4 separate regions of the Homo sapiens genome follow, and all the other regions are linked to region 3. Evidence: promoter capture Hi-C in human tissues and cell types (Jung and others, 2019). All regions are on one chromosome and are shown on one strand. The core of a region is centred on a gene start or on the middle of the fragment in contact, and the rest is flanking DNA. Distances in the headings are between cores, read along the strand shown.

The links. The method cuts DNA at HindIII sites, captures the fragments that hold promoters and counts their contacts. A contact is called where the count stands out against the background at its distance.
Region 1: a contact is called between a fragment that was not itself captured here and the fragment with the promoter of HTR1B in region 3, in 1 of the 25 tissues and cell types used here (dorsolateral prefrontal cortex).
Region 2: a fragment that was not itself captured here is called in contact with the fragment with the promoter of HTR1B in region 3 in 1 of the 25 tissues and cell types used here (aorta).
Region 4: a fragment that was not itself captured here is called in contact with the fragment with the promoter of HTR1B in region 3 in 1 of the 25 tissues and cell types used here (lymphoblastoid cells).

Annotation. Positions count from the first base shown.
Region 1 is chr6:76,885,127-76,892,933 of GRCh38, reverse strand. The region is part of intron 2 of LOC105377862 (a long non-coding RNA gene); the gene reads right to left. Among named protein-coding and RNA genes, the nearest start is that of LINC02540, 300 kb to the right of the region's middle. The HindIII fragment of the contact is 9,171 bases long and covers 1-5,878 here.
Region 2 is chr6:76,837,207-76,843,996 of GRCh38, reverse strand. All of the region lies in intron 2 of LOC105377862 (a long non-coding RNA gene), which reads right to left. Among named protein-coding and RNA genes, the nearest start is that of LINC02540, 250 kb to the right of the region's middle. The HindIII fragment of the contact is 4,902 bases long and covers 1,794-6,695 here.
Region 3 is chr6:77,458,903-77,465,761 of GRCh38, reverse strand. It overlaps HTR1B (5-hydroxytryptamine receptor 1B), which reads left to right and starts at 2,271. Exons shown (of 1, transcript NM_000863.3): 1 at 2,271-4,838. The coding sequence starts at 2,359. The coding sequence ends at 3,531. The region is part of intron 5 of LOC105377864; the gene reads right to left. RefSeq lists a silencer at 3,261-3,405. The HindIII fragment of the contact is 6,434 bases long and covers 1-5,487 here.
Region 4 is chr6:78,227,474-78,234,765 of GRCh38, reverse strand. The region is part of intron 1 of LOC105377865 (a long non-coding RNA gene); the gene reads left to right. Among named protein-coding and RNA genes, the nearest start is that of MIR10524, 310 kb to the left of the region's middle. The HindIII fragment of the contact is 7,053 bases long and covers 2,045-7,292 here.

The DNA.
Region 1 (7,807 bases), core at 44-2,543, 570 kb after region 3:
ACAGTAAGCCATCACAAAATATTAGCAATTGTTCTTTAAACATACTTAAGAAATTTCTGCTCATGAAAGTCTATGTATATTTTGCTGTGGGAAATGGAAAGAAAAGACCAAACTTTCTGCTGGTCAGTCCCCAGGCATCACAGACAAGCAGACAGTGATGATGGTAGTAATGCCTCCTTCGAGCTACTTCATTTCCAAAATTCCTAAGTATATACTACCAATTATTTGCAATGCAAAACCGATGCTCATGCAGAGGAAAATGCTGAAACTATTATGTTAATCTTCAAGTAGAATAAATCTCAAGCCCGAATATATATTTCACTTGCATTTTTATTAAAAGTGTTTTTGTTTATTTCTTTTGCCTTGCTTTTGATAGTTCCATAAGAAGTTATTGCCAGTAAATGAGAACACACATGGAGAGTATGCAGAATGTCACTTTTATCAGCAGTTAAAAGAGTAAAAACTTTATATGTTTTGTACAATTATTTAAGTGTGAATCACCAGTTCTTTCTCAATCTATTCAGTGTTCTCTCTAGAGGGATTCTCAGCAGATCTCTTGATGGTTCCAATGCACTATTCTGAAGAAAAAATGGTTTCCACTGGAATTTTATTAAGTCAAACTGGGACAAGCTGAATATAAGTAGAAAATGCTAGAAAATGGGACAAGCTGAATATAAGTAGAAAACGCTAAAATAAAAATGGCATGAAGAATAAAGTCTCAACATGCTCAGTCAGTATTTTTTTAATTATATCTTCTTTAAGTACACAATTTCCTGTACCTTTTAGGAAGATTTCAAAGAGGATATTTAAGTGTATGATCTTTTTGATCTGAAAATTAGCCTGCCATGCAGTAGGCAAAAAATCATTTTCTTTCTTCACATATAGTATATTCATACTGCTTTTGTTTGAAATTGAAATTAGGATGAATACTTACCTTTCTATGTTGTAACTCAAATAATTTTCTTTTTTTATATTTTATTATTATTATACTTTAAGTTTTAGGGTACATGTACACAATGTGCAGGTTAGTTACAGATGTATACATGTGCCATGCTGGTGCGCTGCACCCATTAACTTATCATTTAGCATTAGGTATATCTCCTAATGCTATCCCTCCCCCCTCCCCCCACCCCACAACAGTCCCCAGAGTGTGATGTTCCCTTTCCTGTGTCCATGTGTTCTCATTGTTCAATTCCCACCTATGAGTGAGAATATGCAGTGTTTGGCTTTTTGTTCTTGCGATAGTTTACTGAGAATGATGATTTCCAATTTCATCCATGTCCCTACAAAGGACATGAACTCATCATTTTTTATGGCTGCATAGTATTCCATGGTGTATATGTGCCACATTTTCTTAATCCAGTCTATCATTGTTGGACATTTGGGTTGGTTCCAAGTCTTTGCTATTGTGAATAGTGCCGCAATAAACATACGTGTGCATGTGTCTTTATAGCAGCATGATTTATAGTCCTTTGGGTATATACCCAGTAATGGGATGGCTGGATCAAATGGTATTTCAAGTTCTAGATCCCTGAGGAATCGCCACACTGACTTCCACAATGGTTGAACTAGTTTACAGTCCCACCAACAGTGTAAAAGTGTCCCTATTTCTCCACATCCTCTCCAGCACCTGTTGTTTCCTGACTTTTTAATGATTGCCATTCTAACTGGTGTGAGATGGTATCTCATTGTGGTTTTGATTTGCATTTCTCTGATGGCCAGTGATGATGAGCATTTTTTCATGTGTTTTTTGGCTGCATAAATGTCTTCTTTTGAGAAGTGTCTGTTCATGTCCTTCGCCCACTTTTTGATGGGGTTGTTTGTTTTTTTCTTGTAAATTTGTTTGTTAACTCAAATAATTTTCAATACATGATGGTAAATTCAGTATCCGTGGGCTGTGCCCACCAAATAACAGGGACTAGGTTTGCCTTCATATATCAAATGTATAGACATAATGTTTCAAAGTCAGGAAAACCTTGAAATTTAATGTTTTTTGTCCACAGTGGTTAGATATCCCTTTAGGAAATAAGTCTATTAATGAATATCAGGACTTCAGAAGTAAAAATAAATGGCCCTTTGAACTATGTAATACATAAATTCGTAAACCAAACAAATAAAATATGCAAAAAATGATCATGCAAAGCATAAATGAAAAATGATACATTTATTCATTTTTATAAGACTTACAATATGCCAGGAGGTTTTAGTTGCTGAAGATAAAGTGTTAAATATGAAAAGAACTTGTCCTCCTAGAAATTAGCACTGTAATAACAGTGATGCCTAAAAATGTATATGTACACAGACTTACATCAGTTAAGATGCCTAACTGTATCTTCATGCTTGAAGAAATAATTACTTTGGGATCCTTTCTGTTTTACTATTTCAGTACTTTGAAAAAGCTGTAGGTGTATCTATGTAAAAATAAAAATCAACTAATAGCACTATCTTTAGAATTATGATGTCTAGCATTTAGAAAGTATAAACGACAAAATGTTATAAAGTTGTCAGACATTTTTATGCCTGTTTATGTAGAAATGATTTTAATCTGAGAAGAAGGGCAAAGTCTGGCATAATGACAGAAATAATGGCATGAAATAAATGATATGAAATAAATGGCTATTTAGAACTAAAAATAATGAAATGAGGTGAGTTCTACGAAGATAGTGGGTAATTATCTAAGGGCTAGTGATTAAAATGTAGATGTGATGTCCAAAACTGTAGCAGCCATTTGGGACTATGAAGCAACAATCCTGTGAAAGAAGAGCATGCATGGTGAAAATAGTGGAAATCAACAAACTCATTATTTGTTTAAGCTACTGTTACAGGTTTTTTTCTTATTTGCAGCTGAAGGTATTTTTCATATGACAACTAGCATGAGTGAAAAGCAAAGTTTGGATCAAGAATTTTTCATACCGTGACATGAAGGCTGTTTAACATGATGGTAACAAACCTACACTAGGGTCATGATTTGACTGAAAGAATAACCTGGCTACTAATCCTGCGGGACAGAACAAGAACAGAATGCAAAGATGTGCAGACAGAACAGAAAGCAATAAGCAAGCTTTGCATATACAATTGAAAGTAGTAATTTGCTAAGGTAAAATAATTCAAGAGAAGGCTTTGTCTGTGCTAACGTTGTAAGCATAAGGGGAAAGGGCAACTCTTAGTGCAGTGGTAACTCCTAAACCCTCATTTCATCTCTGTGCTCCACATATCCATCTGTGTAGTTAATCAAGCTTTTCTTTCCCTTATGTGTATTCATTTTTCCTGGTATTAATTCCTATGTAGCATTAATTTGTAACAAGCAATGAACCTTCCGTAAGCATTATTTTCTATCTTGGAAAGAGTAAAATTAATTAACACCTTTGACATTTGAAAAGTATAAAACTTGCCTATGGTCACCAAAATAAGCACTCTTGGGTCTTTATTATCAACATTTTGCTTAGTCCACCTGGTACCTACCTGTAGGTCTATTTTTATCAGAATGTTTAAATAAATAAATTATTTATGTCCTAATTATAAAGAGGTATTATTTCACCAGGTTATTAAAAATGGCCAGAGGAAATATATCAAACTGTGAAGTAAAATCATATTCTTTGACTATAGAAAGATAAAAAGCAGTTTTTGAAAGGAATAAAAGGGAATGGTACAGTTTAGGGAAGTAACATACAGATATAGATAAAAGACATAATTAAAACTAAAACAGAAAAACTAGGAAAGATCCTTAAAAAACAGTATGCTGTATTCTAGAGAGAATTTTAGAAAAAATACAGCAGCATAAAAAAAACAGCATAACAAATATCTCTTCAGTTCATCCTTACAAAGCAAACATTGAATGAATTTAGATTTTGTAAATTGCTTCAAGCCTTTACATTGAATTATTTTACAAGAATTAAGAATATTGCAAATATTATATAATTTTAGTAGGATACATATTTTAATGTAAAGTCCCTCTGCTATAGTTTAGTTTGTTTGACTCTCCCAAATCTCATGTTGTAATTGGATCGCTAGTGTTAGAGGTGGGGCCCAATGGGAGGTGTTTTCGTCATGGGGGTGGATCCCTTATGAATGGGTTGGTGCCATCCTAATGGTAATGAATGAGTTCTCACTCTCTTAGTTCTTGCGAGAGCTATTTATTAAAAACAGTGTGTCACCTCCCTTCTCTCCTTCTTGGCTTTCTTTTTTGCTATGTGGTCTGTGCATGCACTGGCTTCATGAGTGGAAGCAGCCTGACACCCTCACCAGAAACAGATGCTGGCACTATGCTTCTTGCACAGCCTTCAGAATCATGAGCCAAATAAACCTCTTTTCCTTATAAATTACCCAGCCTCAGGCATTCCTTTGCAGCAACACAAAGGAGCTAAGACACTCTCTTTCAGGACTATTGCCAATGATCTGGCTTTTTCCTAGAAATGTAGCAAAGTAAAATCAATTCCAAGTCCCCAGTTTATTGATTTTTTCCTTGTGCTACATATATACTTTCCTGTTACACATCCTCCAGATTGGCCAGGATTTAGTGAAGGGGACAGAAATGTAATATATCTGTTCAAAAAAAAGCTTTCCATTTTAGATTCAATGCCATTTGAGAATAATACTAAATTCCTAGACACTGCATCTTCTTCTCTTTTCAGTACATTTAGCTAAAAGGGATAGTGGTGGTATTAAATACAAGGTAACATGGGGTTCTGAAAAATATCTAACTCACAGGCAATTAATTAGAAGGTAAAGAAAATAGTCTTCCCTTTTATAGCATCTGCCAACCCGAAATGGGTTGGTACTATTTGCCTTCATGTGTGTCCCTTAGTCATTAAAAAAGAATTTCATTTTACTCGATAAGGACCAAATTATGAAATTATGTTTTATGATTTGGGGAAAACAAATTAAACCACTTACAACTTACAAAAATGTGCAAGATTATTTTCTTGTAAAAAATGTTGATCCTATAGTTATTTGTAAACTGCAGGAAAATGCAGATAGAAAACAAAGTTTAAAAACAGCAAATAAATAGTTTGTTTCACCACATGAAATTCTATGCATTATTTAAATTATTTGATGTGGAGCTCATTTGTTGATCAAGAAAGACATATATTATATTTTAAGTAAAAAATTAAGCTTAATGTCATAAAAATCCATTTTTATTGAAATGAGTTTTTGTATGTGGAGTTTCTACATCAGTGAAATGCACAGGGGGAAAAGTGTAGAATGATACACAGCAATTGTAACAATACTGTTTTTTAAGGGATGTGATTTTTATGGACATTTTTTATTTTCTTCCTTGTCTTTTGTTTTTGACTTTGATAATGGCAGATAAAAATATTATTTTTAAAAAATAATATCGTAGAACTTTAAATTTAGAACTTTATCAGTCCCATCTTCTACCTAATAAATTAGAAGTTTATCCAGTTCCATCTTCTACCTAGTATTAAGATGCCTTCTGTAGTATTCCTATCATATGATAACTCAGATCCTAGTTCAATACCTCTAGGCAAATGTGGTTTACTTAATTTCTAGGCGGGCTAAATAGAAAGCTTCTATCATGGGAAATGTCTAATTTTTTATATTTAAATTCAGGTCTCCCTGTTTATAACTCCTCTTTGGCTCTCCTTGTCTTCTACAAGTGGGTCTAACAGGCTTATTCCTTCTTTTAGAAAGCAGGCTCCCCAATACTTAGGACAACTTTACACTCCAACTCCTTCTTTTTTCATGACTCTTTGATCTCTTGGCAGAGGCAGATGGTGTAAGGGTGTAATGAAGGGCAAGTAGATCAATCAAGATTTTTGCTGCTTGAATAGATTATCTGTTTCCGTGAACAAGCTGCCAGTTGGCCCCTCTTCAAGGACTGCATTCCCTATAAGCAGGTCTCCCATGGGTTCCTTCAGGAGGCTGGGGATGAGGGCGGGTGGCAAAGCACCTAACACAAGATAACGTAAAGACACATGCACTTCTTCCTGGCCTAATAACATGAGATTCTGCCTCACCTTCTGCTTATGTGATCTTGCTAATATCTGGAAGTGGTCAGATATTCAATGGACCCATGGTGAAAGGAGAAGAATGGAAAGATGAACTAAATATAACAAAGTTGAATACATGAAGAAAATCTTAAAATGATATTTTAAAACCTACAACTAATCACATGTATTTTAAATATTTCTATTATTAGATTGTCAGTTATTTGAGCAATTTAAGGCTGGAGTGTTTCTTTGAGTCACTGCTAGTACCTGATTTAAGCTTTGTATTGACCAACACTTAATGATATTTCTTATGCTTAACTGCATTTTGACCTTCAAACATATCCATAGTCAGGCAAGCATAGACCCTCATGATTAGAATCGCATGTGCCTAGGCTCTCTTGAAACAAGCCTATCAATAATTCTACATATTAAAAAAATCCACATTGAAAAATAAGCAACTTATAATTGTACCGGTCAGTTAAACTACACACAGAGCATGAATAAAAAAATTGACAAATTATTCTCCCCTTTTTGGATATGGGCTGGCTTTATTATAGCATTATTAGTAAATTAGCTTAGAAATTAATTGAAAAAAATCCCATACGATCTTCAAGGGATTAAATGGGCATTTGCTGGTTAAAGTCAGGTTTCTTAAATACTTGGTGGTCTTAGTCTGGTCTCTGGATATAAGCATTGGTTTCAAATTGCCTCCAGAATCTTTCTGGCCAAAGAAAATACAACAATGCAAGAACAGTTTCCAACTTGGCAGAAAATACGTATTGAGAAACATTTAGATCCTTTGGGAAACATTAACTCATGAACATTATAAAAGCAGGTAATAATTCAAAATGCTATTTTCTAGGATCCTAAAATCTCCCACAGAGGCCCTATTTATTCAGATTTTCAAAATAGCTCAGCACAGAATAGAGCATGAAATGCATTTGGGCCACTGTGTACATAAAAACATCACAGTGAGTCAGCAGTCAGTCACAGTTCTCTGTCCCATGGGTCATGGATCTGTCTGTTCAAAACCCTGTGAGGAAAAATTCCTGTCAGGTTATATAGGGTGAAAATTCTCCTCTTACTTAAGCAGGAGAGGAGGGCAGCTCTCCACAGGACTCGTTTAGTTCTGCTACTCAGTTGTCACCCAGGGACAACAACGGCTCACGTTCTTGATGGTAACCAGAGACTGGTAGCACTCACCCATGCACCTCAAAGCAGAGCAGAACTGTGGCAGAACCATCCCTACTTCAACAACTCAGCCTGAGTGCAAAAGCAGCTTCCTCGGCCCAAGGAAAAGCCAATGCCAGACAGGATAGAACCATGCAAGACTAGGTCAAGGGCAAGAGAGACAAACATGTAAAGATGGAGAGAGACAGATACACCTATGTCAAACTGTGTAGCAACACTTTGGCCTGCCTCTCCTCCCTCCTTTAGTTGGGTCTATTTACTGGTTTAATTTGTCCATGCGGTTTTTAATTTCAATTACCATATACATCATTTCTAGTAGTGTTGTGTTGTTCCTTTCTCAAATCTGATTGGTCATTTTTGTTTCTTTCTGTGGTCCCTTGTTCTCTGGTAACATTTTCATTCTTTTTAGTTCTCTAAGAATATTTAGCATAATAATTTTATATTTCTTGTCTGGTAATTCTAATATCTGAAGTCTCTGTGGGTCTGTTTCAGCCCTGTGTTGTTTCTGCTGGATCTCACTCTTAGGAACTTGTTTTGTGATTTTCTTTTTTTTTTTTTTGAGGTGGAGTTTCGCTCTTTTTGCCCAGGCTGGAGTGCAATGGCATGATCTCAGCTCACCGCAACCTCCGCCTCCTGTCTCAAGCTCCCTAGTAGCTGGGATTACA
Region 2 (6,790 bases), core at 2,995-5,494, 620 kb after region 3:
TGTTTGTTTTGGCTTCTCTTTGTCTTAACTTCTAAATCCTCTTTGCCTCAAAGCTTAGCCCTAAGCCTTCCTTTCTTTTCATCTAGAATCTTGGTCCCCAGGGAATCTCATCAATGCATATGGATAAGATTCAAATATTATGCATATGCTGTGGACTCCTTGTGTTTCCTCTTTCACAAATTCCAGGTTTGTATGTCCAAGTGATTACTGGATATCTCTTGGCTATCACATAAATACCTCAAATTTGGTACATCGAAAAGGAACCCTTGCTATTCTCCTATGTATTTCTCCCTCAGTGTGTCCTACCTTAGTGAAAGGCACTATGTCTATCTTAGTGCTCCAGGCAAAAGCTGAGGAATTATCTTACTCCTCCCTAATTCATTCTCAAGTCCTATTTATTCTACCTCAAAAATATGTATCTACTTTCACTCCCTCCAAATCACTGTCATCTCTCCCATGGGCAATCATAAAAGTGTTGTAACTCTTCTCATTACTTCCTCTCTTGCCTTTTCAAAACCATTCTCCACAAAACAGCCAGAATGACACTTTAAAAGCATAAATTATTCCCACTTACAAGTTTTTAATTGGCTTCTGATTGAATTTAGAATAAAATTCATATTTCTCTTCATCCTACAAAGCATGACACAATCTGACCATGGTCTGGCTACCCTTTCATTTCCTGTTTCTAATAAACTTTTTCCAGCCACACTGACTTCTTGCATTTCTTGGAACCATCCATCTTGCCTTGGCTTCTTTCCATTTACTTTGAAATGGATGCATATGCTTCCAGTTTTTCACATGGCTAACATCTCCTGTTTCATCTCTCAGCTTAAAGATCTCCTGCCCAGAAAAGCCTTTTCTGACAACACTATCTGAAATAAGGCCCTCCTCCATTATTCTCTATATAGCTGGTCCTACAGATTTTCATCTTTAGCAATTCCAAATTCGGTATTTATTTGTGTGCTGTTATTTTCCATTTGCTATATTGGACTGTACGTGCCAACAAAAGAGGCTTTTTCCCTCTTTTTCATCATGCCTTTTAGCTACCCTCCAAGAAATACAAGAGAAATAGGGGAACTATCAGACTATTCCCACATCTAGTATATTTTCTGCTGCATATCATTTTTCTAATAAGTATTTTTAATTTAATGAATTATTTACTGATTATCTATTACCTACCTGACACTCTAATAGGAGCTAAGCAATCAACAGGGAGGAGCAGTTTACAGTCTTAGGTGGACTACTGGTAGGTGAAAGGACATACTAATCATACGTGCTCCAATAGGAGGCAGCACACAGCGATGTATGAAGCGTATGTCTTTACTTCCTTGAAAATGCATGAACCCTGGATCCAATTCCAGGCACAGTCCTTAACAAGTGTGACAGCTGATTCTTTTCTTTCTTTCCTTTTTTCAAACCCCAGTTGTGGTGCAGTCAGACACGTAAACCTCATGGAGAATCCCTATGTAAGTGCTCCAGTTCACTGCCAGCTGTGTGAAACTGTCTTGAATATCCAGGTGAAGCCAAGGCTTCAGATTACTCAAATCCCAACCACCATTTTTCTGACTGTAACTGCAGGAGAGATCCCAAGGAAGATCACAGTTGAGCCTGACCCAAAGCCAACCCAAATATCTGTAAGAAATAGTAATAAATTGTTGTAAGCCACTAACTTTTAAAGTGGTGTGTTATATAGCAATGGGTAACTAAAACAGCAATGAAATTTTTGTTTTTGCTCTAGTGTTGCTAGATTGTGTTTGTTAATACATGACAAGAAAAGAAGAAGGAATGCAATTGTTTAGCTAAGAGCAAATAAGGCAAAAGAAAACATTCAGATCAGCTTCACATTGCTTTGTGGACACTCAGGCAGTCTCTTAATGCTTCTGAAGCCCCCTTTCCATACATGGATCCACTCATCCATCCATCCATCCATTCATTTCCCCACCCATCATTCATTTAACATTTATGGAGGGAGCTCCTACTCTGAGGCAGGCTCTTCATTAAGCAATGAGATGCAAAATGGAATGAAACAGGATTTTGCTCTCAAAGAAAATCTGTCCAATTAGGAAAATTTATCATTCTAAAAAAAAGTACAGGTAGGTTGGGAGAGTTATAAAAATAGAAGATAACATTTTTGTTTGTTTATTTTCCTCCATGGCATTTTTGAAAACAACCATTTATCCTAAAAGTCTCAGATAGTTCTGTTAAATCAAAATCTCAAACCCACTTCTCTGTTCTCCCTATGTATTGGTTAAAACAAGTCTTGACTGAAAATAGTTGGGAATCTACTGAGGAAGATGTGTTGCTGTGGGGGATAGGTCTGGAAACAGAGAAGAGATGGAGCAATTGAAAAAACAGGTATGTGCATCGTGTGCACTAGCCACTCACCAAGAAACACCAACAGATGCAGAAGTATGGGAGTCAGAGAAATAAGAATAATCAGGTAGTCAGCTTTAGAAACATCAGGTTTGCTAGTCACATCGATTGCAATTTCTTAATTTTATCTACATTTATTTATTCACTTTGATTCATAAGTACACAGCTATATTCATACAATATCAAATATTAAAGCAGATGAGATGCCTGGCAACATTTATATCCATTTAATTGATGTAGGCTATATAATATGGTTGGTGCTAATTTGAAAGCCATATTAGATTATTTACAGTTTTATTATCCAGGTGATTCTGCATTTCTTATATATTTTTATCAAGTATCTGCCCTGCTGCAATGACACCGGGAGTAACTTAAAGTGTTCTGAACTGATTATAAATATCTATGCATTTTATTTTTTGTTTCCCTTCCATCCACCTAGTGTTTTTTCTACAAGTATGTTTATCTTTGGTAGTCAGACCATGTTGCATGCAGTGAACCATAAAAAATTCATAAGTTTCTCAAGTTCACTTCAAAAGCAATACCTGATCTGTCAAAACACATTTTAAACTGTCAAAATGCTTTTCCATTATGGCCTTATTTGGTGCTGTGGTGCTTTATAACCCCAACGTGCTGGGAAAAAAGAGGTGAAAAGACTCACGTGGAGATGTTCTGCTGCAAAAAGTCAAAAAGCAATGCATTGATGTTTGGCTGAACATCCATAACCAGCAATGATTTAATAATTTATATTTGTAAATTATGTAAATACCCATTTAGACCTTGAGGAAAAAACATGTCTTTAAAAATGAAAATTAAAATCTATCATCAGGATTTTTAGATTATTTAAGATAAAACTAGCAACATTAGCCCCCTCACAGTTTACACTCTTAATTTTAAGGTATATATTAACCAGTAAAAATTTTTTGGACAACTAGGTGTGAAGATACTGACAGTTTCAGTCTTAACACGTACTTTTATATGCAGTGTCAACTGGGGGCATAAAGCATAGTAGAATCATTATAAAAAACTTGATAACTGCTGAACTGTAATTCTGAAACTCATTAGTCATCGCATTTCAGTATTTATTACTTATCTTGCTACATAGTTCAAAATACTTCATTGTATTGCTGCTAAGATCACTTGCTCAAAAAAAAAAAAAAAAGCTTATTGGTTCCTGTTATCAGCAAGGCCAGTTAGCTTTGTTCAAATTCCTGATCTTAGGTGACCCTAGCACCTCAGCCTCACTCCTTCACAATATATTAGTAAATCTGTGTGATAACGAATATATATTAAACATATTAATGCAACTTCATCATTATAAGAGAAAAAAATCTCAAATAGAGGGCATACTCATAGTAAAACCATAACCACAAGTACATGTGTGAGAGTTCATAATCATTACATAAATGTCTGTCTTACTTTTATACAGACATGAACAAAAGTATTCTACTATGTGACAGACACTGTGCTGAGAATTGAGAATACTCATAGCTGGGAAGCAATATAGACATTGTGCCTGTCCTCCTTGATTTACATTCCCATAAGGAACATGATGTAGAGGAAAGTACAAGTACCTTAGCCTCAACCTAGGGCCTCAGCATAAGGTGACTTCAGCACCAAGTCATCTTGGTTTAGCCTATGCCAACAGATGACTTAATTTATATGATCTTGCTTACCTTATGAGGAAAAAAAAAGAGTTCTAGAATATAAACTGAAAGAAAACAAATGTAATATAAAACAATACATAATATACATTAAGTCAGCTTAAGAATCTGATACTTAGAATTTTACGGAAGATAAAAAAGTAATTATTCCTTTGATTTGTTTTTTCTGTGAACACAGTCATTTTCTTCTATTCTGTGAATCATTTTGAGATAGAGAAAAGGAAGATTGACGTTAGGCAGAATCCAGTCTCCCCTGGGACCTTATGTCTGACTGTCAAGTTTTCTGTGTTCATATTTCTCTATAATACTGTAACCCTATAATACTGTAACCCTGACACTAGTTGGGCTGCCTATTCTCTGAAAGATTTAAATTATATTTGTTCAAGTTCTTATCCCACACTCTAAAGGAAGTCCAGTGACCTAATCAAGAGTTCTGTGATGTACTAGGCACTTAAATATACCAGATGCCTTCTGACCCGGAACCACTACCCTCGCCGAACCCATGACTTCAGTCATTTTTCAACTCTTACTGCTGTTTCTCACCTTCTCTCCCCTGGCCACCATAAATTTCTATGCCTATTCCTTTTCTTTGATTTCCCCTATGTCTTAGTTTGTCTTGTGCTACTATAACAGAGTACCTGAGACTGGGTAATTTATAGGCAACAGAAATTTATTTCTTACAGTTCTGGAACCTAAGAAGTCCAGGGCCAAGGCTCTACCATCTAGTGAGGGCATGCTTGCTGTGTCCTTACATGGCAGAAGGCAGAAAGGGAAAAGAGGATAAATGCTATGCCCGTACATGGCAGAGGAGCAGAGGAGTGAGAAAACTCCCTCCTGAAAGCCATTTTTTTACATTGATATTACTCTATTAATGAAGGCAGAGCTCTCATGACCTAAACATCTCTTGAAAGTCCCCACCACCTCCCAACACCGTTGGCATTGGTGATTAAGTTTCCAACACATGAATTTTGGGGGACATGTTAAGATCATAGCACCCCAAGATGACTTCATTAATATTTATCTTTGAATATGTAGCAGCCTTCATTAAGTATTGAAGTAAAAGATAAGCTTTAAAGTTACTAAAATATGAGGCTTTAAGACTTAACCATCTTTCTTTAAAAAGACGGTGCTCATTTTCTGCCAAGCTGTGCAGGAATCTTTCCTCTGCAAAATTTCTGCATTTCAATTCTTTTCACATTATTATGCAGAACATTAGCTCCTGCTACCCAGTTCACTCTTGCCTGCTAAAATAAAGGACCATCCACTCCAGACATGAGTCTTTGCTAGCACAGGAGACCTATTCAAAGCTTTCTTTTTCTTTTATTTTTTATTTATCAATCTCTGTTGCAAGATAGATGAGAATCATATACTAAAGTGATTTAACTTCCCACTACTTAACTACTCTGCTTCAACTAGAAGACAGTGGAGAACAAAGGCACTTTGGGTTTTAAATAATGTTTTTTTCACTCTGTTAAAAAAAAATCGTGCTCTGATTTGGAGTTAGGTGCCTCCTCCTCACTCCCACAGGAGTCATCACAGTACAGATTACCCTCTATTGTCATTATCTATTTAATCATCTATGGCTCTCACTAGGTTAGATTTCCACAAGGAAAGAAACTCTGTACATTTTTATCTGTTTTTTTTTTTATAATATCTAGCATTGCCTAAAAGTAGCTACTCAAGAAATATTTGTTATGTGAATGGACGAAAAATATTATATTCCTGACAATAACAAAACCTGGATTTTCTACATTTTCTATATTTATAATGTTTACAATATAGCAGATACTATGATCAAATGATTATAATAAACACTACAAACAAAAAACCCAAAACATACTGCTAGACAAGTCTCTCACTCAAAAGCTGAGGACCTTGTGGTGAGAGAAGAGAAATGAGAGCTTAGTCTTCTCACTCTGTAAGGACTTTCCTGGGGTTAGAAATCAGGCTTCCTCTCTTTCTGGGTCCTGCATCTTTCCATTATACCACATCTTAGCCTGAGGAGTCAGATAGCCTGCCACCCTGAATTATGGAAGAAGCTAGTAAACAGCTTTCCAGAAGCAAGCATCGATTGTTTTTGCATCTCCTTACAAGCAGTGTAGAATAAGAAGCAGCTTCCAACTCCCAGAAGCTTGAGATGGCTTTTCAAGTGTGGAAAAATAACCAAGCGGGAGCACCAGCGCCTTGAGCCTCCAAGGTTGCCTTATATTCTTGGCAAAAGTACACTGGTTGTTCAAGGGCATTTTACGTTTTCAAAAGCTGTTTTTGGACACTGGGAAGGTTTAGTTTCATGAAGGTGATTTAAACTGCTTGCTTTGGGTGTGGAAAGATTAGGATTTAAGAATCGTTAAGTGAAATTCATTTAAGAATAATAAGGATTAACAGTCAAATACTGCTTGCTTGCTTGCTTATTTGTTCTGCAGCTATATCTTCCAAGAAATATTTGCATTGCACATCAAAAATGAAAATAGTTTGAAAATAACTGATAATCCATAGATTAGAAAAACCTCATTGAGGATAACCATTGGATATTTAATTTCTACTGTGTCCCTCTCCTCACTCTTAAAGTTTTTCTGCATCCTATCTCTTTGGCCTCATTTCCAACCTGTCCTTCATTCAATCCTTCATGCAGCTATAGATAAGTTGCTAGAGTATATTGTAAGAGAGGTAATATATCAAAAATTGCCTCAATTCAAATCCCTGCCCCATCACTTTCTAGCTATGTGACCTTCTAGCTGTATTGACTTAGTGGTCTT
Region 3 (6,859 bases), core at 1,022-3,521:
TGTCTGTCTCTTCTAGAATGTAAACTGCTGGAAAAGAGGGTCTGAGTCTACTCCCACTGGCCTCCATACCTCGGATGCCTAGAAAAATACTCAGCATAGAGTAGGCACTCTATTTTTTGCCTGCTTGCCTGGTTTAGAGAACCGGGAATTAAGGGAACTTGGGTTTGTGCTTTATTGCCTTGGGTAAAAAGCTCTTCTTTCAAAGGATCTCAATTACTCTTCCTCTAAAACTGGGTGGAGGGATCAGATCAGATAGCCTTAGGTTCTGACACAGAATGATTCTCTTTAAAATATATGTGCGCTTAAACAGATGAATTCATTTACAATGCAGTTTTTATTAGATACACTCTAGGTGCCAAACATGGATCTAGGCTCTAGGAATTCGTAGTGGGGATCATTTAATCCTTCGAGCTGAAAATACCTTGTCCTTTCCTGGAGCTTTTCTTCATACTTTCTGATTTGCATCTCTACCCTACATTTGTTTCTGTTGAGGTCAGAGGAGAAACTGAGGACAGGGGATCCGTCCCTGGTCATGAGACCTAGGTACTGGTATTGCATGCTGCAGCTTATGGCTGACATTCCCACATATTAGTTGAAGGCAAAGGAGACACACAAGATGGTGCTGATGATGGTTCCAGTCCTCCCCGCCCCACCATCCCCCTTTTTTCTTGAATTCTGATGACCTCCTTTCTAGGTAGGCTGTTGGAAGGAACACGCTTACTGGCAACTGTTTTCCAGAGGCACTGAAGCACTGAGCAGCTGGAAGAGGATGGTGGAGCAGAAGGTTTAATTTCACATACAGTTGGCTTCTGTTTGTGATAACTTTTACATTTTCGCAGATAGCTTGTCTTTTTCCCTGTTGACTCATAGTTGAGTGAAAAACACAAATTTCTAAAACTAGATGAAAAAATAGTTTTTATTGTATCAAGAGTTAAGGACGGCAAAGTACAAAATGCAAACATTGGGCCCTCTACAGCGATATTACTGGTGCCTCCTAACCTGGGTGTGGCCATCAGGGCTGGATATGATTTTAGAGCGGAGAGGTCAGAGACCAGGGCTTCCCCGCCTAACACTGGCCTCCTAGGGTGGGAGTGGTAGGCAGGAGCCTAGGGCCAGACTGCTGGACTAAACCTGTGACCATGGCTAAGGACATGGGTCTCACTGGAGGTCAGCGCAGCAAGCTCTGATGTCCGTAGAGGCGAGAACAGGACGCCTTCTTCCCCTGACCAGAAATGCAGCTCCAGGTTGTCAGGGCTGGGAGGATGGCCCAGGGTGGGAAGCGGGGAGATAGGGCGGTAGGACCCGGCGGGAGCTTCCTTGGCCAGGAAAGGAACAGGGCGGGGGGAAAAGAGGGAGGGAGAGAGAAAAAGGGAAGGTGATGGGGAGCGGGCGTCCGCACCCGCCGCGCCGCACGAGTTGCACTGCTCTGGCGGACCGGACCTGGACTCTATATAAAGAGCCCATCTGCTCCGTAGCTCGCACGCTTCTCCCGGGCTGGTGCACGCCGCGTCCCTCCAGCTCCCCCAGACACCTGCCCCTTCCCAGTGTGCCGCGCCAGGTCCTCCAGACCCGCGCACCCAGTGGCATGGCTCCGAGTGGCTCCCGTGGGACCAGGGTGGCGGTGGCGGCGGCGCGGCCCGAGCAGCCGCAACTCCAGCCCCCGTGTCCCCCCTTTTATGGCTCCGTCTCCGCGGGGCAGCTCGTCCGAGTGGCCAGAGAGTGAAAAGAGAGGGAGGGCAGAGCTCCGGCGCGAGGCGCGGCGCAGCGCTGCTCCTAGACTTCACCCCACCCAGCTCTGGCGGCCGCTGCAGCCCCCCAAAAGTGCCCCAGCTTGGGGCGAGGGGTGGGAATGCAAGATCTCGGGACCTCTCGCTGGCCTGCAAGCTTTGGTCTCTACACCTAGGAAACTCCTGTGGGCAAAGTCTGCAGATCCAAAAGCGTCCAGGTTAGGAGACGCTCAGCCTCAAGCAACTGGGGTAAGAGATCCCATTTGGTCAAAGCCTTCTCCTCAAGCAGTACTTCACCCTCCTGCACTAGACGCCTCCAGGGAGCTGGAGCGGAGCAGGGCTCGGTGGGCCAGCTCTTAGCAACCCAGGTCTAAGACCCGGTGTGGAGAGGAACAACCACAGACGCGGCGGCTTAGCTAGGCGCTCTGGAAGTGCAGGGGAGGCGCCCGCCTGCCTTGGCTGCCGCACCCATGACCTCTAGTTTCAGCTGTGAACCTGGGCGGAGGAATAATTGAGGAACTCACGGAACTATCAACTGGGGACAAACCTGCGATCGCCACGGTCCTTCCGCCCTCTCCTTCGTCCGCTCCATGCCCAAGAGCTGCGCTCCGGAGCTGGGGCGAGGAGAGCCATGGAGGAACCGGGTGCTCAGTGCGCTCCACCGCCGCCCGCGGGCTCCGAGACCTGGGTTCCTCAAGCCAACTTATCCTCTGCTCCCTCCCAAAACTGCAGCGCCAAGGACTACATTTACCAGGACTCCATCTCCCTACCCTGGAAAGTACTGCTGGTTATGCTATTGGCGCTCATCACCTTGGCCACCACGCTCTCCAATGCCTTTGTGATTGCCACAGTGTACCGGACCCGGAAACTGCACACCCCGGCTAACTACCTGATCGCCTCTCTGGCGGTCACCGACCTGCTTGTGTCCATCCTGGTGATGCCCATCAGCACCATGTACACTGTCACCGGCCGCTGGACACTGGGCCAGGTGGTCTGTGACTTCTGGCTGTCGTCGGACATCACTTGTTGCACTGCCTCCATCCTGCACCTCTGTGTCATCGCCCTGGACCGCTACTGGGCCATCACGGACGCCGTGGAGTACTCAGCTAAAAGGACTCCCAAGAGGGCGGCGGTCATGATCGCGCTGGTGTGGGTCTTCTCCATCTCTATCTCGCTGCCGCCCTTCTTCTGGCGTCAGGCTAAGGCCGAAGAGGAGGTGTCGGAATGCGTGGTGAACACCGACCACATCCTCTACACGGTCTACTCCACGGTGGGTGCTTTCTACTTCCCCACCCTGCTCCTCATCGCCCTCTATGGCCGCATCTACGTAGAAGCCCGCTCCCGGATTTTGAAACAGACGCCCAACAGGACCGGCAAGCGCTTGACCCGAGCCCAGCTGATAACCGACTCCCCCGGGTCCACGTCCTCGGTCACCTCTATTAACTCGCGGGTTCCCGACGTGCCCAGCGAATCCGGATCTCCTGTGTATGTGAACCAAGTCAAAGTGCGAGTCTCCGACGCCCTGCTGGAAAAGAAGAAACTCATGGCCGCTAGGGAGCGCAAAGCCACCAAGACCCTAGGGATCATTTTGGGAGCCTTTATTGTGTGTTGGCTACCCTTCTTCATCATCTCCCTAGTGATGCCTATCTGCAAAGATGCCTGCTGGTTCCACCTAGCCATCTTTGACTTCTTCACATGGCTGGGCTATCTCAACTCCCTCATCAACCCCATAATCTATACCATGTCCAATGAGGACTTTAAACAAGCATTCCATAAACTGATACGTTTTAAGTGCACAAGTTGACTTGCCGTTTGCAGTGGGGTCGCCTAAGCGACCTTTGGGGACCAAGTTGTGTCTGGTTCCACAGGTAGGTCGAATCTTCTTTCGCGGTTTCTGGGTCCCAGCGAGGCTCTCTCTCCTGGGCAAGGGCAATGGATCCTGAGAAGCCAGAATAGTCCTGAGAGAGAGCTCTGAAAGGAGAAGTGTTGAAACTAAATGTAGAGCTTCCCTGCCCAGGAGGAGGCTCACTTCCTCCCCTCAAGCCCCGGGCTCAGCACTGACCCTGCGGCAGCCAATCCCAAAGGGGGTTGCAACTTTTAAAAATTGATAATGGAAGGGAATCCCTGCCCTGCTTTGGTATCGTGGATAATGCCCACTAGAAGCAGTGTACTTGTAATTGTTGTCTGAAGCCTGTCTGAGACAGATCTACATACAGCCTGGCAGTACTTGAACTAGACGCTTAATGCCCTGTGTTTTTGGGGGGAGAACTTTGTGTTACAGCTTAATTTAAGAACAGTTACTTTGGCATCATTCAGTCTTCACTTTTTGTCTATTTAAACTTGGTTGGAGAAACTTGTGGATTTGGTGCTTCAAACCCTATGTGTGGCTTGGATGGCGCAGAGAAACCTTGAAGAGTTAACAGCAAAATTCTGATGCTGAGATCTCTATTTTTATTATACTTGAAACTATATGGGGGTGGGTGGGTGGGAATGGGAGATGAGGAGTGTTAAACTGAGAATCAACACCTATGATTGTTTGTTTTCTGCAGATTTACAATTTTGTAATTCCTGTTTAGCGATTGTCAAGCCACAACTCTAACAAACAAACCATTATGTGTGCTAGTGCCGAAGTCTGCAGACTGCTTTATTTTTTCTCTTAATTTCATGTACCTGTCACTTTACACATTTAAATCCCCATAAATGAAGGGTATGATGGGTGACTCAGCCCACACTGCTGCTATATTTCTTACTAATGCAATTGGTAAAACCGATTAGTATTGGAAATATACTGTTTCTTAACAAGAAAAGTGTCTTTATTTCTTATCCAATTTAGTGAGATGTGAAGGAGACTGATGACATGGGGATAGTTCTTACACAATTGAGGAATGGGGTGGGGGCAATAGGAGGATGTATATTTTGACTTGTAAAAAAATCTTAAAATGCATGAAACTTTTATCTGATAGTCATTTGCACTCTCCTTCCCATCTGTGATTCCTTGTGTGCTAACATATAAAGAAACCAAGAGAACTATCTTCCTTCTCCAGAAACCTTAAAAATACAGTTAAGGGCCCTAAAAACGATATTGAAAAGAAAATAAACTTGTTTCTTTTTTGTTGTTGTTGTTATTGAAGTTTGGGCAGGAGAAAAGATTGCTAGAAAATGACATATAAGAACTTTAGAAAAGCTTAGAGAAACTAAAATTGAGCCTGTTTTTGTCTTGTTTTTTGTTTGTTTAAAAAAGAAAAAATTGCAGAACCAAACCTCAGACTTACTAACAATCAGGAAACTGGCAAGCTTTTGACCTTTGTAAATTTGTTACCAACCTGATATCTCAATTAATATAATATCTGGAATACTTTAAATTTATCAGTCTTTTCAAATTTCAAGAATACTTAGTTATTTCAAATTTCCTCTGAGAGCTCCCTAATACAGGATAAAGTCATGAAATAAAATATGAAAAAAATGTATATTTTAATAAGAAGTAGCCCTGAGGGATTATCTGCACGGAAAAAAATGTATATGTACAGCATTTAACATGCCAAAGAAAATTCACACTCCTTTCCTCAGAGGGCATTCTGCAGTTGATACCTTTTGTCTGCAGAAGCAAGTTGTCTTTGTGAAATGGATTCACTCCTTGCTTGAAACTCCCCAGTCCTGTTTGTCAGACAATAAATACATTGAGCTGAAGTACACTGCTTGCCTACTGTGCAGACCTTCACCTTGAGTAATCACTCTTGAAAATATACTATTCAAAGATTCACACATAAGCTAACTAAAAAGGGGAGTTTTGATCAATATTTATACCTGTCACTGGTGTGAGAGAAAATTTTAGGCATTAGATTTGCCTATACTTCTGCTGGATCCCAAGTTTCTTTGTTTGCTTTTTGTGATATTTCTCCTATGGAGGAATGTGCATAGAGCGTGGTGTTTGTTTTTATGTTATTAATACTGTGGTCTTCTGTTTATACAGTTGTATTTTCTTTGGTCCTAAGAGGCAATTAAGTCAACTTCTAAGAGCCTTAGGGGGAAACATTAATTGAAACAAATAGCCACTTTCAAATGATTTCTTTATAGGGTACCTGCAATGATGGTGTCCTCACATTAACAAAACACAATCAGTTTAGTCGAATGGGTTGTTTGCCATTTTGTAGATTAACCACCTAAATTATTGCTTGACTATTTGGCTGTATTGCCTGGATTTGGGGCATATTGTATGAAATAGAAGCTTGCAAACCCTTATAGTTATAAGAGATATAGAATCATCATTCAGCATTGCACATGATTATGCAAAGTGTAGTATTCATCCCAGGGGTATGTAGTTAAGACTGTTAAGCTCCTTTTCAGTTACTGTTGCCTATAGCATAGTTTATTTCATAAACTAGGCACATGGCTTTTTTGCAGAACATGAAGCGGGAGATGGAAATGTTTAACTTACATAGCAATGGAAATATATTTTCATTGGCTGTGGTAATAAACAACATTTTCCATATTGTTTAATTGCACAAATTTTCACAGAAATATATGAATGTATACTCACTCAATATTACCAGTATTGTCTTGTGTTTCTAGGAATTTTAGAGTTTCCTTTTAAAAATGGACACTACACCCATGAATGAATGTTTATTGAGTTCAACAAATTTTCTAAAGAACAATATTCTTAACTTTTCCTCTCTATTATCTTAGTTTTGTCTTCTTTAACCAGGAAACCCTGAGAAGATTATAATTCACTGAAGCAGTAAAATATCAGATTATGTGTATTTGATGGAGTTGCTGTGACTGAAAATTGCCTTTGGTATTCCATCTTTCAGGAAATGTATCATTGGAAATGAAATTTAGGAAAATAAATAAAAGTCCTTTTGTGTTCTAAAAAGCGTCGGGTAGTAGTTCTATTATTATGGAAAGATTGGTTCCTTGGATTCTGGGGTTGTGTTTAGGAGTTTGACCCTTCATGAGAGAATGACTAATAGTAAATGATACTGTGGCTGCCTGATATGTGCTGCCATGACTTGGGGGATTTAGTTTATATCTGAAGGAAGAATTTGAAAGGAAAGAAATGGGTTGTGCTTTCCTATTCTGCAAAGAGAGAGGGTTAGATCCACTATCACAAGAGTTTTCCAGATTAGTTTTTAGAG
Region 4 (7,292 bases), core at 4,322-6,821, 770 kb before region 3:
TCTCACATCTATCCTCCTTTGATTAGTATCCAAGAAAAAAAGTCTCTGGAGTCTTTTCTCCCTTCCACTAATTCCTGCTTTACTCTGGTAATGTGCTTCCTTTTTCCCTCAAATAATTGTTTTCTCCTCTCTCTTGAATATTTCAGCTGAGTTCTTTGACACCTCTAATCCTCAACCATTCTCTGAATATGACCTCCATTTATTTTCTCTAATAAAATCTGGATCTCTCCTATGCTCAATGCTTCCTCTAAATCCCATCACCCCAGCCTGAATAGAAGGATGGGAAGTGGGATCAGGATCTTAATTGATCCCTTTGCTGCTTCAAGATCATTATGCCTCCATCTTGATGAGAAAAAAAAAGTGTCATTAAGGACGAGAGCCATCAATGCAACTGCAGCAACCTCTGCCTGTCCTAGTGACTTCAGTGCAGATGTGATCCTCACGTGAAAATTGATGCAGAGTGTTCCATAGGAGAGGGTTGGGAACAAGAGAGAGAGAAAAAAAATGAGAATATGATAAAGGGAGAAACAGTAAAGGTAGGTTCCCAGGGGATGCAATTTTTGCCCATGCTGTTAGTTCTGCAGCTGCCTTGGACATCAAGATAACATCTGTGGTTTCCTATGGCAGTAAAGTATCCACACTCTGTTCTTTCAAGACCTTTATTCTATCTCATCTTAAAAGCTGCTGTTGCTTGGCTAGCCCAAATTTTGTTGGAAGCAGAAATGTGAGGATGTGGTTGTACTAAATATGGGGAGTTTTACATTGGACTTTGCCTTATACCCATATTTGCTAGAAACACCAACCTTCTGCATTCAACCTCTCCTCCCATTACATAACAGTTGTGTTCTGTTCTTTTCTTCTCATTTGTGTTCTTAATTCAGTCAATGCATCAAGGCCCTGTTTATCAATTCTGTTCTCTTTCTTCAGTATCATAAGTGTGCTTTATTTTTCTGCTAGGTCCCTCTCTTCTACATGTAAACATGCTCAGGCTTTTCCCCTTATTATAAAACAACTTCTCCTTGGCCCTATGCCACTCTGTAACAACTACGCAATTGAAGCTACCTCCTTATAAGAATTGTCTCTGCTCAGTGTCACTAGTTCTCAACATCAAGTTCATATTTTTTCAACTCTACTATTTTTATGTGGATATCTTCTAAACAAATACAAAACACAGGCTCTCTGAAACAAAAGCATTTGATTATTAATTTGTAGCATTTGATTATTTCCTTGATGTAAATACTGTCAAGATGGCAGAATTCAAGCAACCGACATGAAGTAACTGAAGTAGATTTGAAAAGATGAAAAGAGATGTGCATAGCAGCTCTTGAAAGCTGCTGAAAGACTATAAGCTGGCTCTAGAACATCACTGATAATACATTTCTTTGCTTCTTTTTTTTTTTTTCCTTTCCTTCCTCGTATTGGATTATCCAGATTATTTTGTTGCTTTGTTTCTCTTTTTCTGGAATGGAAGTTACACATTTTATGTCGTTTACTTAATGATTGCCTTTGAATTTTTTTTAACATGCAGACAAATTTAAGAAATTAATATCTCCAACTTAAATAATCTAAGATTTAGGTTGCTGAATTTTGACCCCTTCCCCAACTTATATGCCACTGCTGTCTGATATTTTAGTTTATGCTTTTTAAACCTCACCAAACTTGACAAAATATGATTACTTGTAGAATCTTAAACAATCTTTTTCAGTGCACTGTCATAATGTATACACCATATGTTTTCAAATTGGGTTCTGTGGATCCCACTGACATCATATCGGTGGCTTAGGAGCTCCTGATATGAATGTAAGAGGGGCCACAGAGTTTGATGGAGGTATAAGCCAGGCACAGTGTCTCTAAGCAGAGAAGAATGCTAATCTTCTATAGAGTTTTGGAAAATGATGAAGTTCAATGACTAGCAGATTTTCAGAGAACATGGAGTAATTTAACATCACTGTAGTTATGTGGTTATTTGTATATGACTGTTGTTGATTGCCTGGCACTCAGATGCGTGGTCATTGGGTCTTTACCTGATTGGCTGACTTTCAGATGTGAAGGGCTTTTGCTGTTTGGTTACTTCACAGAACCATATTTGGTTACTTCATAAAACCATATTTACTGAAGTGAGTTGTCATTGGTTGATTAAACATACTTAAAACTAGCTCCATACCAGGTACGGTGGCTCACCCCTGTAATCTCAGCATGTTGGGAGGCTGAGGTGGGTGGATCACTTGAGGTCAGGAGTTTGAGATCAGCCTGGCCAACATGGTGAAACACTGTCTATACTGAAAACACAAAAATTAGCCAAGCATGGTGGCACAAACTTGTAATCCCAGCTACTCAGGAGGCTGAGGCAGGAGAAGCGCTTGAGCTATGGAGGTAGAGGTTGCAGTGAGCTGAGATGGTGCCACTGCACTCCAGCCTGGGCAGATAGAGCAAGACTCCATCTCAAAAAAAAAAAAAAAAATAGGGATAGGAGGCAGGAATAAATTACACTCCCACTTGGACAGAAAGAGGAGCATGTGGAGTCTCACATTGTGAACACTTTCTCTAAGAACTACCTGCCAGGAATATACTAGGACAGCTGAGAGAATCTACAGACGCTTTGGAGGAGTGGTTTGCTCCTGGAGGACCCAGGAGACAGCCTAAATACTGTGAGTGTCCAAACAGTGAAACTGGGAAAGGGTGATTGTCCATCTCTGAACACACACTCTCACTGGGGAACCTGAAAGTCAGATCACAGGAGAAGGATTTTATCTTACCTGGAGCTGAGATAATTTAGAGAGCCGAGCAACAACCTAAATGTCTAGCAACAATAGATTGGATTAAGAAAATGTGGCACATATACACCATGGAATACTATGCAGCCATAAAAAATGATGAGTTCATGTCCTTTGTAGGGACATGGATGAAACTGGAAACGATCATTCTCAGCAAACTATCGCAAGGACAAAAAACCAAACACCGCCTGTTCTCACTCATAGGTGGGAATTGAACAATAAAAACACATGGACACAGGAAGGGGAACATCACACACCAGGGACTGTTGTGGGGCAGGGGGAGGGGGGAGGGATAGCATTAGGAGATATACCTAAAGCTAAATGATGAGTTAATGGGTGCAGCGCACCAACATGGCACATGTATACATATGTAACAAACCTGCACGTTGTGCACATGTACCCTAAAACTTAAAGTATAATAATAATAAAATTAAAAATAAATAAATAAATATATAAAAAAAATACAAGGGTAGAAAAAGCTGCAGGTAAAGCCCTGTGGGCTCTCTGGGTCCCCAGGGAAGCCACTTCTGACTGTCTCATAGAGGTCCTTGGGGAGGGGCTGCCAGAGGAACTGGGAAAAGACCACAGGGAGAAGGAAACCACCAGCTGAACTTCGTAACAATTCCAACTGAATGCAAAGTGTTCTGGCCAGAACTCAGGGGAGGGCATGAATCTGGTGTGCAGAGTCCACAGGCAAGGAGGCAGGAAAGCTCTGCTTGCTTTCTCAGCTGGGAGACTGGTAGCCTGGGGCAAATTCTCAGTCCTGCTTACCTACTGCCTGGAAACAAACTTGGTGCTGTTTGGAGGGTACAGTGGGCATGAAACCGGGCTTTTGGATTGTGTGGGAGCTGGGGGAGGCCTGTAACTGCCAACTTTCCCCCACCTACTTGACAACCTCCATGACTCAGCAGAGCCAGCCATAATCCTCCTGGGAATATAACTCCATTGACCTGGGAACCACACCCGCATCCCCCACAGAAGCTGCAGCAAGACTCGCCAAGGAGAGTCTTGAGCTCAGATGCACTTAACCCTGCCCTTACCTGATGGTCTTTGTCTACCCACCCTGGTAGCTGAAGACAAAGGTTATATTCCCTTGGGAGTTCTAGGGCCCCACCCATTGCCTGTTCCTCCCCATACTACCATAGCTGATGCTCTCTTGAAAGTGCCACCTCCTGGCAGGAGGCCAACTAGCACAAAACTAGTACCTTAAACAGCTACAATTAAGGACCCTCACAGAGTCCATTTCACTCCCCTGCCACCTCTAGCAGAGTAGGGGAGGTGAGAGATCTGAAGATGGTTCACATCACAGGGCTCTCTGCAGACAGCCCCCAGTACTAGCCTTGAGCCTAGTAGCCCTGCTGGGTAGTTAGATTCAGAAGAGAAGTAACAATCCCTACAGTTCAGCTCTCAGGAAACCACATCCCTAGGAAAATAGGGAGAGTACTACATCAAGGGAGCACCTTGTTGAACAAAAGACAATGAACAGAAGCCTTGGGCCCCACATCTTCCCTCTGACGTAGTCTACCCAAATGAGAAGGAACCAGAAAAACAATTCTGATAATATGACAAAATGAGGTTCTTTAACACCCCTAAAAAAATCAAACTAGCTCACCAGCAAAGGATCCAAACAAGAAGAAATCTCTGAATTGCCAGAAAAAGGATTCAGAAAGTCAATTATTAAGCTAATTGATGAAGCACCAGAGAAAGGTGAAGTTCAACTTAAGGAAATAAAAAAAGTCTATCTTAAGGAAATTAAAAAAAAAAGATACAAGATATGAGAAGAGAAATCTTCAGTGAAATAGACAGCATAAATAGAAAACAATCACAACTTTGGGAAATGAAGGAAATAGCAACAGAATCGAACAAACATAAGAAAGAAATTCAGAGCTCAAAGACGAGGTTTTCAAATTAACCCAATCCAACAAAGACAAAGAAACAAGAATTTTAAAAATGAAAAAAGCCTCCAAGGAGTTTGGGATTATGTTAAACAATCAAACCTAAGAATAATTGGTGTTACTGAGAAAGAAGAGAAATCTAAAAGTTTGGAAAATATATTGGAGGGAATAATTGAGGAAAACTTCCCTGGCCTTGCTAGAGATCTAGACATCCAAATACAAAGAGCTCAAAGAACATCTGGGAAATTCATCACAAAATGATCATCGCCTAGGCACATAGTCATCAGGCTACCTAAGTCAAGACAAAGGAAAGAATCTTAAGAGCTGTGAGGCAAAAGTACCAGGTAACCTGTAAAGAAAAACCTATCAGATTAACAGCAGATTTCTCAGCAGAAACTGTACAAGCTAGAAGGGATTGGGACCCTATCTTTAGCCTCCTTAAACAAAACAATTATCAGCCAAGAGTTTTGTATCCACCGAATCTAAGCTTCATAAATGAAGGTAAGATACAGTCTTTTTCAGACAAACAAATGCTGAGAAAATTCATCACTACAAAGCCAGCACTACAAGAACTGCTAAAAGATACTCTAAATCTTGAAACAAATCCTGGAAACATATCAAAACTGAACCTTTTTAAAGCATGAATCCCACAGGACCTATAAAAAAATACAATAAATAAATAAATGTTAAAAACCCAAGGTATTCAGGCAACAAAGAGTATTATGAATGGAATAGTACCTCACATCTCAATACTAACATTGAATGTAAATGGCCTAAATGCTCCACTAAAAAGATACAGATTTGCAGAATGGGTAAGAATTCACCAATGAAATATCTGCTGCCTTCAAGAGACTCACCTAACCATAAGGACTCACATAAACTTAAGGTAACAGGGTGGAAAAAGACATTCCATGCAAATGGACACCAAAAGTAAGCAGGAGTAGCTATTATATCAGACAAAACAAACTTTAAAGCAACAGAAGTTTAAGAAAACAGAGGGACATTATATAATGATAAAAGGCCTTGTCCAATAGGAAAATATCACAATCATAAATATATATGCACCTAACACTGGAGTTGCCAAATTTATAAAACAATTACTACTAGAGATAAGAAATGAGAAAGACAGCAACACAATAATAGTGAAGCGCTTCAGTATTCCACTGACAGCACCAGACAGGTTATCGAGACAGAAAATCAACAAAGAAACAATGGATTTAAACTATACCCTAGAACAAACGGAGTTAACAGATATTTACAGAAATTCTACTCAACAACCACAGAATATACATTACATTCATCAGTGCATGGAAGTTTCTCCAAGATAGACCATATGGTAGGCCATAAAACAAGTCTCAATAAATTTTAGAAGATTGAAATTATATCAAGTATTATCTCAGACCACAGTGAAATAAAATTGGAAATCATCTCCAAAAGGAGCCTTCAAAATCATGCAAATACATGAAAATTAAATAACTTGCTTCTCAATTTCATTAGGTCAACAATGAAATCAAGATGGAAATTAAAGAATTATTTGTCCATTTCTTCTAGATTTTCTAGTATATTTGCGTAGAGGTGTTTGTAGTATTCTCTGATGGTAGTTTGCATTTCTGTGGGATAGGTGGTGATATCCCCTTTATCATTTTTTATTGCATCTATTTGATTCTTCTCTCTTTCTTCTTTATTAGTCTTGCTAGCAGTCTATCAATTTTGTTGATCCTTTCAAAAAGCCAGCTCCTGGATTCATTAATTTTTTGAAGGGTTTTTTGTGTCTCTATTTCCTTCAGTTCTGCTCTGATTTTAGTTATTTCTTGCCTTCTGCTAGCTTTTGAATGTGTTTGCTCTTGCTTTTCTAGTTCCTTTAATTGTGATGTTAGGGTGTCAATTTTGGATCTTTCCTGCTTTCTCTTGTGGGCATTTAGTGCTATAAATTTCCCTCTACACACTGCTTTGAATGTGTCCCAGAGATTCTGGTATGTTGTGTCTTTGTTTTTGTTGGTTTCAAAGAACATCTTTATTTCTGCCTTCATTTCGTTATGTAGCCAGTAGTCATTCAGGAGCAAGTTGTTCAGTTTCCATGTAGTTGAGCGGTTTTGAGTGAGTTTCTTAATCCTGAGTTCTAGTTTGATTGCACTGTGGTCTGAGAGACAGTTTGTTACAATTTCTGATCTTTTACATTTGCTGAGGAGTGCTTTACTTCCAAGTATGTGGTCAATTTTGGAATAGGTGTGGTGTGGTGCTGAAAAAAATGTATATTCTGTTGATTTGGGGTGGAGAGTTCTGTAGATGTCTATTAGGTCTGCTTGGTGCAGAGCTGAGTTCCATTCCTGGGTATCCTTGTTAACTTTCTGCCTTGTTGATCTGTCTAACTTTGACAGGGGGGTGGTAAAGTCTCCCATTATTATTGTGTGGGAGTCTAAGTCTCTTTGTATGTCACTCAGGACTTGCTTTATGAATCTGGGTGCTCCTGTATTGGGTGCATATATATTTAGGATAGTTAGCTCTTCTTGTTGAATTGATCCCTTTACCATTATGTAATGGCCTTCTTTGTCTCTTTTGATCTTTGTTGGTTTAAAGTCTGTTTTATCTGATACTAGGTTTGCAACCCCTGCCTTTTTTTTGT